Regions from separate parts of the Homo sapiens genome. Here all the other regions are linked to region 3. The links are contacts of gene promoters, found by promoter capture Hi-C in blood cells and fetal thymus (Javierre and others, 2016). All regions are on one chromosome and are shown on one strand. Each heading gives the region's core, a stretch centred on a gene start or on the middle of the fragment in contact. The rest is flanking DNA. Distances are from core to core; before and after follow the strand shown.

What was found. Contacts are between HindIII fragments. The CHiCAGO score rates a contact against its expected background, and 5 or more counts as called.
Region 1: a contact is called between a fragment that was not itself captured here and the fragment with the promoter of ZWINT in region 3, in 1 of 17 cell types (total B cells). The highest score is 5.6, in total B cells.
Region 2: a fragment that was not itself captured here is called in contact with the fragment with the promoter of ZWINT in region 3 in 1 of 17 cell types (total B cells); the score reaches 5.1 in total B cells.
Region 4: a fragment that was not itself captured here is called in contact with the fragment with the promoter of ZWINT in region 3 in 1 of 17 cell types (total B cells); the score reaches 5.1 in total B cells.

Annotation. Positions count from the first base shown.
Region 1 is chr10:56,830,903-56,833,713 of GRCh38, forward strand. No RefSeq gene overlaps it. Among named protein-coding and RNA genes, the nearest start is that of ZWINT, 470 kb to the left of the region's middle. The HindIII fragment of the contact is 446 bases long and covers 1,224-1,669 here.
Region 2 is chr10:56,652,059-56,654,840 of GRCh38, forward strand. No RefSeq gene overlaps it. Among named protein-coding and RNA genes, the nearest start is that of ZWINT, 290 kb to the left of the region's middle. The HindIII fragment of the contact is 1,971 bases long and covers 505-2,475 here.
Region 3 is chr10:56,359,967-56,362,880 of GRCh38, forward strand. ZWINT (ZW10 interacting kinetochore protein) reads right to left here and starts at 1,293. Exons shown (of 9, transcript NM_007057.4): 1 at 1,230-1,293; 2 at 327-417; 3 at 52-175. The coding sequence starts at 1,270. It overlaps LOC124902546 (a long non-coding RNA gene), which reads left to right and starts at 1,493. Exons shown (of 2, transcript XR_007062372.1): 1 at 1,493-1,890. RefSeq lists enhancers at 1-377, 1-263, 1,003-1,742, 1,091-1,260 and a silencer at 1,351-1,560. The HindIII fragment of the contact is 11,189 bases long and covers 1-2,670 here.
Region 4 is chr10:56,790,321-56,793,129 of GRCh38, forward strand. No RefSeq gene overlaps it. Among named protein-coding and RNA genes, the nearest start is that of ZWINT, 430 kb to the left of the region's middle. The HindIII fragment of the contact is 1,276 bases long and covers 656-1,931 here.

The sequences.
Region 1 (2,811 bases), core at 197-2,696, 470 kb after region 3:
AAAATGAATTTCTTAAGTAATAAGACACAAAACTCAAAACTATTCCTTGAATTACCAAAATGTGATAGAGAAACATAAAATGAGCATATACTCTTAGGAAAATTACAATAATAGAATGTCTTGATACAAGGTTGATGCAAACCTTCAATTTGTATAAACACAATATTGCAAAGCACAATAACATGCAAAACAATTAGATATGCCTGTATATCCTTTTATAAAATATCTCAAGATGCTTTTGTGACTTCTTAAAGAAATTTCATAAATTAACAATTTTTTAATGTAATTTGGGACAATGTCAATGCCACATGTACATAAGTCATTATACAGGGACAGATTCAGAATTACAGGCCATAAAGAATTATGTTTCTTGGGTTCTTAGAACATATAAAACAATATAAACTGTTGCAAAATCAACAAAATAAGTTGAAATAAATTTTTAAAAATTGATATTCAAAGGAATTTTATTGAACATATGAATATGTGCTACAGGTTCTACTCCTTAATACTTATCATGAAGTTAGAAGGGCTAGTCAAAAAGACCAGGATAAAAATATCTTATTTATCAGTTCAAACTAAAAACCAAGCTACTTTATATATCTGTTGTTTAGTTTTAGATTAACAATAAACTATGATTGCCCATGATCAAGAGAAAAAAACTACAAGATATTCAATCAAAACAATCTTTAGCTTGACCTAAGATAAAATGCCTGAGTCTGGAATTCAATCCTGTCATATTTGTTGTAAGATTTGGGCAATAACTTGAACTCCTAATAAATTGTTTTATTATGGCATTTCTTTCTCTCTGCACCTATGAAAAATGTGAGAATACGATGAGAAAATACTTTTGGAAGTGGAAATGTATCACATAATAAGGTGGTAATAAGTTAGTAGCCCTGCCTACCTCGGTGATTACCCGCCTCTTGTAAGTTATAATACCCACTCTACCCCAGCCTCTGGTTTCAGCCACATGGACTTTTATAACAACCATGTGGTCTTTCAACTAAGTCATACTGCCCCTTGAGCAGGCTTTTTGCCCAACAGTTTGTTCCTTCACCAGGATATTCTTGACCTTTGTGTGCTATGCATGCCTCCTACACTCCTCTTTGCTTAATTTTGTTCTGCTCATCTTCAGATCTCCACTCAGACACCTTTTCCTCAGAGTAGCTTTCCTCAAACTATAGAACACCTGTTCCTGCTTTCCCTCTTCCCACTTTGCCAAAAGCTTAATCAAGATCTGTCACAAATCATCATAGTCATCGTGCTTTCCCTTCAAAAAACTTGTCAGAGTTTTAATTTGACAATTATTTATAACTATTAAATGGATTTTGATAACTTATATGATCTCTGATAATATTGGTGTTTGTTAATCATGGTATTTCCAGAGCTTAATACAGCAATATGCATATATTAAATATTTAATAACTAAAGGTTCAATGAATCACATGAATAAGAATACAGATTTCAACATCTCTTTTTTTAGGTCTTTGCTTAAATATGAGATACATCCTTGATCAACTTATTCAAAATTGCATCACATTTACTTCCCACTTTTCTTTCCTTCATCCTTCTTTATTTTTCTGTATAGTATTTATTTTCTGACATACCATGTAACTAATGCTTGTTACAAAGTAGGGATAAAGAATAAATAATTGATTAAACATAATAAAGCTTTGGCTTTTATATTTAAAGACAGGTCAAATAGTTTGGGCAATACTATTTATTCTTAATGTTTATTAGAGTTGGGCTTACAATTAGTTATTATATCTCTTCGATGCTGGAGTTGCAAGAGGGTCTTCAAGAGGATGAAGAAGTAGTGAATTTGTATCATTGAGAAGCAGCTATGCATCTGGACTGCAAATACAAAATGCATAAATTCCAATTCTGGCTTCAACACTTAGAAGCTATAAGCCCTTAACAAGTTATTTAATCTTTTTAAGCCTCAATTTCTTCAACTATAAGGCTGAGAAAGGATCACGATAATAGTTTTTTCTTTTTTTTTTTTTTGTTTTTTTACCTAATAGGATTGCTAGGAAGATTACAAGAGATAATACATGTAAATGTTTTATACAGTATTTGATATATAGCAAGAACTCAATAAATATTACTTTTGCTGTTACCTATGATGATGCTAGAGCAGGAGATCACTTCCAAAAATGTGAGAAAATACAGGCATTGATGCAATTGCTCTGGAGGTCTGATATAATCATATTAGTTCATTGCTATAACATAATCCTATCCACACAGGCCATCCCCTGATAATTACTATTGGTATAACTGCAATTAATATATATGCTTTTATACTGTATGAAAAACGCTTGCTGATATGCTGGGTAGAGTGAGGATACTAAACCATTTACAAGAGTCTTTTCTTCCAAGTAGTTTGTATGAAGAAACATAATCTGAGACAATAATTAAAATATGACCTGAAATATTAACAAAATAATTGTTATAGAAATCCAGTGGACAGAAAGCTCATCTGCTGTTGTGTTAATTAGGAAATTTATATAGAGATGGTTGTCTTTTTACTTGGACGTTGACAAAGGATCAAGGTAAACCTGCAGAGATCAACCTACCACATTATAAAAATTGATGACACTCTTCTCTTTCAAAAAAGTGAAATATCAGAGAAGTTCAGCTTTCCTAGAAAATATGATAAGCAGCCTCATTCACACAAAATTTTAATTTTGCAAGCACTTTTGTTTGGATATAAGTGCAGCATTCTCATGTAAGTCAAAATTTACTTTTCACAATCTGATACTCAACAATTTGTTTCTTCCTTTTTTTTTTTTTTTTTTTTTTTTTGAGGCG
Region 2 (2,782 bases), core at 240-2,739, 290 kb after region 3:
CCAAACTGTGTATCAATTAGAGTATGATTTATATTTGCTTTATCTTGCAGGCCTCCACATCCAATTAACGTAAAACTCTGTTCTCCGAAGTGTTGTTCAATGTGTCCTGCTACCAAGAGGCACACTCTGCATTTTAAGATGGGTTGTATCCAAGCACTTTATTTTCCTTAAGGTAGCCATGTAATTACCAAATGGCTGCAGCTCTGCTCCCATGATTGGGAGGGTATTTTGATACCTAGATGTTCTTTAGCTTCTTTGTTGTTAGAAAACAGTAAAATCTACTAATTATAATTAAGACTAGTGTACTTAAATGTGGAACACATTATCACAGAAATAATACATCTTTATGACTCAAATCTATGTCAAGAAGCTGGTGGACTCTGGGACAAACACATTTAAAACATATATGCTTATACATTGTCAAGCATTTCTAAAATGGGCTTCTATTGAAACATTAGATTTTTCTGCAATTGTTAAATGTCTGTGTGCTTCAAAATTTCCAAAAGCTTCCCAAGAAAATAATCTGAAATTTTATGGAGGTGCTATATATTTTAAGCCATTAAAACACATTCTAACCTTAGAGTTTCAGCTTAAGGTGATTACTGAGTGAATTCTGGTTTTTCAGTAACCTGTGCTCTCAACAGGAAAATAGTCTGTAACATGTATTAATTTTTCTCTCCTCTAAACTGTGATGATGCAAGTTGAAGTCAACAGCCATTACTTAAAAAGTATAAAAATGCTGCCCACATATATTTATACTTATGTCATCAAACTGAGAATGTGATAATCCTTATCAGTGATGCTCCCTGTGGTTGACAACCAGCACCATCAGCATCACTGGGAAGATGCAAAAACCTGGGGTCCACCCCAGACTAACTGAATCAGAACTTCTAGGGTTACAGCCCAGAAATCAGTATATTCTTCAGATCATTCTGATGCATACTAAAGTTTGAGCACCATTTCCTTAGTTTATTATTTGAGATAAAACACTGAAGATGCCTTCTAAGTTATAAATGTATATGGGGTCAATGTAAGTAACATCACCAATCCTGAACACATCCATTCCAATAACCTCACATCAGCAAGAATACCTTTGTCATAATGAGTCATCTTGAACACACCTACAATAGTAAAGAATAAAACTTGTCAATTCTTATGTTGGAAGTAAATAAGAAAAGGTCTAGAATAAAGAAAAACTTTATTTGTCAGGTACAGAAGATTTGAACATGATAGAAATGCAGAAAGAAAAAGAAGGTAGAAAGTGTCTTGATGGGAGAAAGTGAGTAGCCTTGTTTCTGATTTTTTTAAATTGGCTTTTCATATATGAGAGCATAAAAGCAATATGCTGGGAGCTTTTTGAAGAGGAGGGGAACTTCCTTCTTTCTACTCTAGGTCACAGCACCTGGTTATAGCCTAAAAATATAAATAGACACATGAAATGGAGTAAAAAGGATAGTTTCACATTAGTCATGTTATCCCTCTCTCACCTCTGGCCAGCACAGCATGAAAAGAGATACTTTCTGTGTGGGAAAAAAAAGAGGAAAGTATGTGTAGGAACTTGCCTTGGGCCCCAACACTGGGCTTGCCACAGGAAAATTCAGCACTGGGAAGCCTCCACGGTCTCTACATCCAGGATAGTACCTAAGGACTGAGTCATTAGACCCACCCCAGTACCAAATGGGTGCCAATAACCTGTGTAAGAAAGATTGCTTTTTGGCCCACATCACCAATGCCTGACTGCAATGGCCTTAAATTCTGAATAAACGTCAACAGCAAGCTAACTTTAAAATCCAGGGGCTTTGGGTGTGTTCCAGAACTGCATAAGCTCCAAGTGGCCATTGAATTTCAGTCCAAGGCTGCACCAACCTTTGTGGCCACATGACTCTAGCGCAGGCTACACAAGTTGAAGCAATTCTAGGCTTAGGGTGCTTTCTAGTGCTACAAGAGCTTCAGTGGCCATGGATTTAGAGACCATACCAGTTAGTTTGCACAGAATTTCTGGACAGATTTACTGTTGAAGAACAGTCCCAGACAAAGTCAAACTACAAAGGTTAAAGCAAGTACCTAATTTTTCAATGTATACACATTGACACATGACCATAAGGATCAAGAAAAATCAGGAAAACATTTCACCAAATGGACAAAATAAAGTGCTAGTGACTAACCTTAAAAAGATGGAGATGTCTAAACTGCCTGACAAAAATTCAAAATAGGTGTGTTAAATCTCAGTGAACTTCCAAAAAATTCAGAAAAACAATTTTAAAATGTATCAGATAAATTTAACAGAAAGATTTAAACAATTTTAAAAATCAAATAGAAATTCTGGAAATAAAAACACAATGAACAAAGAAAAAAACACCATAGAGAGCATCAACAGCATAACTGATCAAAGATAATAAAGGATCTGTGAACTCAAAGACAGGTTATTTGAAAATATAAAGTTAGAGGAAAAACATAATGAAAAGTCATAAAGAAAGCTTATGTGATTGATAAGACAGCATCAAAAGGGCAAATTACCAGTCATTGACCTTCAAAACAGAATAGATGAAGATAAAATGATAAGAAGTTTATTTAATGAAATAATAGAATAAAACTTTCCAAGCCTAGAGAAAGATATAAATATCCATGTGCAGGAAGGTCAAAATCTCCAATCATATTCAATTCTAATAAGATTAACTCAAGACATTAACACTATCAAAGATTAAAGGAAAAAAGAAGGTCCTAAATGTAACAACAATAACAAAAACAAAACAGCAAATAACATATAAAGGAGTTCCAAAGC
Region 3 (2,914 bases), core at 43-2,542:
CCTTCCTTCCCCACTCAGGTCAGCTGCTACTACAATCCCCTGCCTACTCACGGCTCGTGTCTTCAGAAGCCAAGGGGTCGAGACCCTTAGCAGTGTCCTCCTGAGCCAGGATGTTCTGCAGGAAATCCGCTACCTGAAGCTGGCTGCAGAGCAGCTTGTCTTTCTTCTGAGAGTCCTGCTCAGAGGGAGGGCAGAGACAGGGAACATCCTTACCTCCTTACAGGTTTCCTTAAGTCTGCTCTCTGCCAGTGCTGCCCTGTATCTCAGTAAGAGGAGCCAGGACCAGACCCTGGCTTCTGAAAGGCTCGCTCTCATCTTGTACATACCACCACAAACTCAACCAGGATCTTGGCTGGCAGTTCTGCCTCCTCCTGCAGGCCTACAGGTTCCAAGATGCCTGCCACCTCAGCCAGGACCCTGGAGGGGCAAGGAAACACAGGAAATTGCAGTTTCTTGTGGTGCTAGTTCTACAGTTCGTGTGTGTACACAAACAAATGTGGATGTGTATATCAGTATATATAGTATTGAGAGTCTTGCCTTGACCAGAGTTTACACAAGGGCCTGAAGGGTCCACAGCCTGCAACCAGGAATGGCGTGCATGGAGGGCACACGGTGGTAATACGTGCCAAAAGGAAAATCAGCAGGGCTAGTGGATAAGGAGTTTGAGAAAAGAGCTGAAATTTTAAATAGGGAGTGTCTCACTGAAGAGAAATCATTTGAGTCAAGATGTGAAGGAAGCCAGGGAGATATGCAAGGAAGGGGAAGAATGCTGGGCCTTGGGATCCCTCCTGGCGCTGAGCACCAGCCTTGGGGCAGAGTCTTGGAATAGCTGAGAAAGGACTCAGGGCAGAGGGCTGGATGCCTCGGTCTACTCTAGGGTTTTTCATTATTAGGGACTGGAGCAATCTACGAAGGGGCAGGGATGGGGATGAGAAGTGACTGGGAATGTGTCGTGTTGGGACAAGAAGACAGAAGTGAAACCGTCTCCTAGAGCACATCCTGTGGATTATGTGGATGTGGGGAGCGGCGAACGGTCCCCCAAAGGCTGTACTCCTGGAGCAGGCAACAGACACCTCAGGAACCTAAGACGGGACTGCGGTGAGGATCACTTCACGGCAGGGTCGAACCTCAACAGCTGTACAGGGTCGAGGGCACCAATCATTACACATAGGGGCCCACAAGGTCCTCCCAGGCCCGGCCCCAGCTGCCACTTAGCCGCAAACACTTACTCTAGGGCTGCAGCTTCCGCCTCTGTCTCCGCTGCCTCCATCTTTCCAGGCGCCGAGTTCAGCTGCCTTCCCACAATCCCTAAGATTACTTTGAAGTCACAGTCGACTTCGCGCCGGGGCAGGCGATTGGCTGCAGAGGTTAGTGGGCGGGCATCAAGGACCATTGTGCGCTCTAATTGGCAGGCGCGGATTCGCTCGTTGGCGGGCCTCGCTGCTTGGCGCAAGCGCGGTTATGGCTAGGCGCGCACGGGCTCTGCGCCTGCGCGCTAGTCCTTACGCGGTGCCAGAGACTATAAGTGGGCTTGAGCTCGACCGCGCGCCTGTGGAAGTTCTTTCTCTACTCGAAAAAGGGAAAGCATTTCCTTGAGTTTGCGTTTTAAGGGAAACTTACAGCATTGACACTTTATTTAAAATATTCACTACTGCTGTAGAAAAAAAAAAACAAAACCCCGAAAAACAGTGGGGCTGTTTCTAAGACGCTGGGAATCAGTAAAGAATAGTGATCCGGGAGATACAGGAAGCAAATGATCTGCGCTCAAAAAGCGAGCTGCTTTCAAAGATATTAGTATTTTATAGATGCGATGCAGGAGAGTGAACTCAAGCAGAGCCCAGCCGATTGCCTGCGTTGGCAAAATAGAACAGATATTCTGGGGAGACCAAGGTAGGTAATGTTCTTTGCAGAGTACAGGAGAAAGATAACTGCTGAGAGAGAACTTGGTATTCATTCAGCTGAGTACTGAGCAGTATGTGTCTCAAGAAACTAGCTAAAAGATTTTTAAAGATACCAGGACATGGCCGGTCGCGGTGGCTCACGTCTGTAATCCCAGCACTTTGTGAGTCTGAGGCAGGTGAATTACGAGGTCAGGAGTTTGAGACCAGCCTGGCCAACATGGTGAAACCCCCGTCTCTACTAAAAGTACAAAAAAAATTAGTTGGGCGTGGTGGTGGGCGCTTGTAATCCCAGCTATTCGGGAGGCTGAGGCAGGAGAATTGCTTGAACCAGGGAGGCTGAGGTTGCAGTTAGCCGAAATTGCGCCACAGCACTACAGCCCTGGTGACAGTGCGAGACTCCGTCTCACAAAAAAAAAAAAATACATATATATATATATATAAATATATATATATGGACATTACAGAGGGTCAGAAATAGTCTCTATTTCCACTAACCAGGCTGGAAAACTTCATAGTCCGTAGGACACTGGACAGAGTACACACAAAAAAGTCTTGATTTGATAGTTGTTTACTAATTATTTAGTAGGCAGTAATTAGTCCTAGCTGATCAGTGCTGTAGTGCCATCTAACTCTTAAAAGTAAGACCCAAATGGATCAAACTTAACAAACCATGACAGATGACAAGACCAAACTTCAGCAGTATTTATAGAAATAGAAAAATGTTCACCAAAGGTGCAATTTACATATGTCATACAAAGAAAAATTACCAAGCTTGCAAAAAGAAAAAAAAAAACACATAATGAGGAGAAAAATCAATTGCTGATCAGAACTGAAGTAATGTTAGAATCAACAGGCAAGGACATTAAAACAGTTATTGTAACTATATCCCATATCTTCAAAAAGATATCAGAACTATAATGAAAAAGGTAAGTGGTGCTAAGGATGTAAAGAAAGTGGAATTCTCATGTTGATGGAAATGTAAACTGGTGCATAGGCTTTGAACGTAGGGTTAC
Region 4 (2,809 bases), core at 44-2,543, 430 kb after region 3:
ATGTGAGACAGTATTCAAAGTATCAAAGTTAGAGCAGAGAACAAAACATACAGAAATTAAAGTGTAAGCTAATATTTTCATTTGAGTGACTTGGGATAACATACTTTAGATACCAAAATATTTTGAAATGGAATGTAGCAAAATTGAAAAGGGATTATATGACATTCTTTCATCTATGCAAAGAGTGTATTTGGCAGGGAGGAATAAGTTATTAGGGCAGGTTTTATCTATATATCTATATTTTATAGCTATATCTTTTTTCTAAAGTGATGTTATTATATAATACATGTGAATTATGTAAGACGTCACATGAAATACAGCATTTAATGATGGACTTCCTTTTTGTCCCACTAGATGAAGTAACTTTTTAAACATGTATGCAGCAGACAAAGACCTTTAAAAAAAATGCAAGGTTTAGATTAACTCTAATAAGCTTTTCTCAAGGCAAGCTTTCATAAACTAATCCAGCCTCTCAGATCCTCCCTATAAAATGTACTAATATTCAGACTAATTTACTGTTCTACATTAGAGAGACAGTAAATATAACAAGTAAATAAAGGAGAGCTTGCCTTTGAAGTTAGATAGCCATGCGCACATATTCTCAATCTTCTATTTGCTAGCTATGGAAACTAAGGCAACTTCCATAACTTTTCTAAGCTTGGATTAATTTATAAAATTAAATTTTAAAACTATTTAACTCAATGTTTGCAGAGACAATTCAATTATATAATGAAAGGCAAATCTAGACATATTCTAAATGCTCAATTAATGTTATTCATCAGTATTTTTCTTTTATTATTAACATCTCTTCTACCAAATTTTTCTAAAGAATATACTTGTTTCAACAAACTCATTTTTCTGTCTGCAAAGAGTAATTATTCTTATCACCTAAAAACTCAATTTTAGCTTCCAACATTCTTTAGTTTATTAAAAAGAAAGATTTAATTTCAAAGCCTAATTCTGTTGAATTCTATCACACATTGACAGATTTCCTATACTAGTCTGAATGTTCATAAATTGGATTTACTTATTTTGTCTCCTATTCAGCTACAAGGAAATATCCAGAATTTCTTATTTACAAAGAATCAGGTTCATTCTAACTGGGGATATTTCATGGATTCAATGTGCTCATCAGCCAACATGCTCTTAAGTAAGCCAAATAAGGTATTCTTAACTCCACATTGTAATTGAAACCTTTGGAATCCAGTTAAGATAAAAAAAAAAAAACCTCTTGTGTGGCAGAGGTAGAATGACAAAAACTCTGTGTCAGACAGCATAAGAAATAGTCAAAGCAAAGAGAACATGTGTCAGTTAGGATAGACTAGGCCATTTTGTGATAACATAAGCTCCCAAATCTTCTTGACTTACGGTAACAAAGGCTGGTTTCTGGCACATGTGACAAGTCTGTAACAGATTGGCCATGACTCTACTTCACTATGAGACCGAAGCATTCAGCCCAGCTTTTAAGCATTAATGGTCATGATGGCATAAAGAAACAGAACATAGAAACACATATGGGCTCTTAAAGTTTCTAACAAGATTGACAGCCTCTTGCCTCTTTCATTCATAATTTATTGGTTCAAGCAAGGAACATAGTCAAGCCTAATGTCAATAGGGTAGTGAATACATGTAAATGATCCTATCTACTACACTGAACATACTACCAGTAATATCATATGGATATATCACTCTTCATTATATATCTTGTATGTTCTATACACATTACTTCATTTCATCCTTATATTAATCCTGTGAAGACAAAGTATATGTCATTATCTCCATTTAATATGCTTAAAAGCTGAGTTAAAAAAATGTGGAGTCTGGGAAGATGACAGAGTAGAGAGCACTTGGAATCCATCTCCCCTCTAAAACAACAGTCGTACTGGAAGAATTCGATGTGACTATTTCGATAAACTTTTTAGTCAGTTGGAAGCTTGCCACTTTGAGAGGAAGGCTTGGTTGGTAAATTGCAGTACTTTCAGTCAATTTCAGCTTTCAGCTCAGCAGCAGCTACCCATTCCTTACCCCAGTCCAAAGGCAGGCACATATTCCTGATGCAGCTTGCATGAAGATTGCAGAAACCAGGGTGGGTAATAAACACCCTGTCCTCCAATATCTGGATCTGTAGTCTGATAAATGATGGCATTTATAATCATGGAAGTACAGAAACAAAAGAGAGTAGACACTGTTGCATACCCACATTATTGCAAGCCACTACCCATCCAATGGAAGTGGATTTCAGGGCATTTAAATGGCTAGTACCCTTCCCCGCTTTATTTTTCTCTTTTTCTCCTTTTGTGAAGCTCTACATTAAATACCACAATATTCAAAAGCAACAACATGCATTGGAGAAATTAGAAACTCACTGTGTGTGACCAGGGAAAGATGCAGGCTCAGAAAAAAAAATAAGAACTAAGTTCACAACTCAGCCTGACCCTCAGCATGAAGACAGCCTACAAAAATTAAATCAAAACAAAAGCGTAAAACAGCAAACCCTGATAAAAAAGAAGAATGTGACTTCCATAGCTGCCACATTATTACATTCACATGTCAAGTTTTCAATAACAACAAAATCACAATGAATAAAAAGAGATAGGGAAATATGGTCCTTTTAAAGGAAAAAAGTAAGCTAACATAACTGTCCCTGAGAAAGGCCAGATGGCAAATATAGACAAAGACTTTAAAACAGTTATCTTAAAGATGCTCAAAGAGCTAAAAAAATGATGTGAAGAAAGTCAATAAAATGATGAATGAACAAAATGAAAGATCAATAAAAAGAAAAGCAACAATGAAATAAAAAAGAAATTTA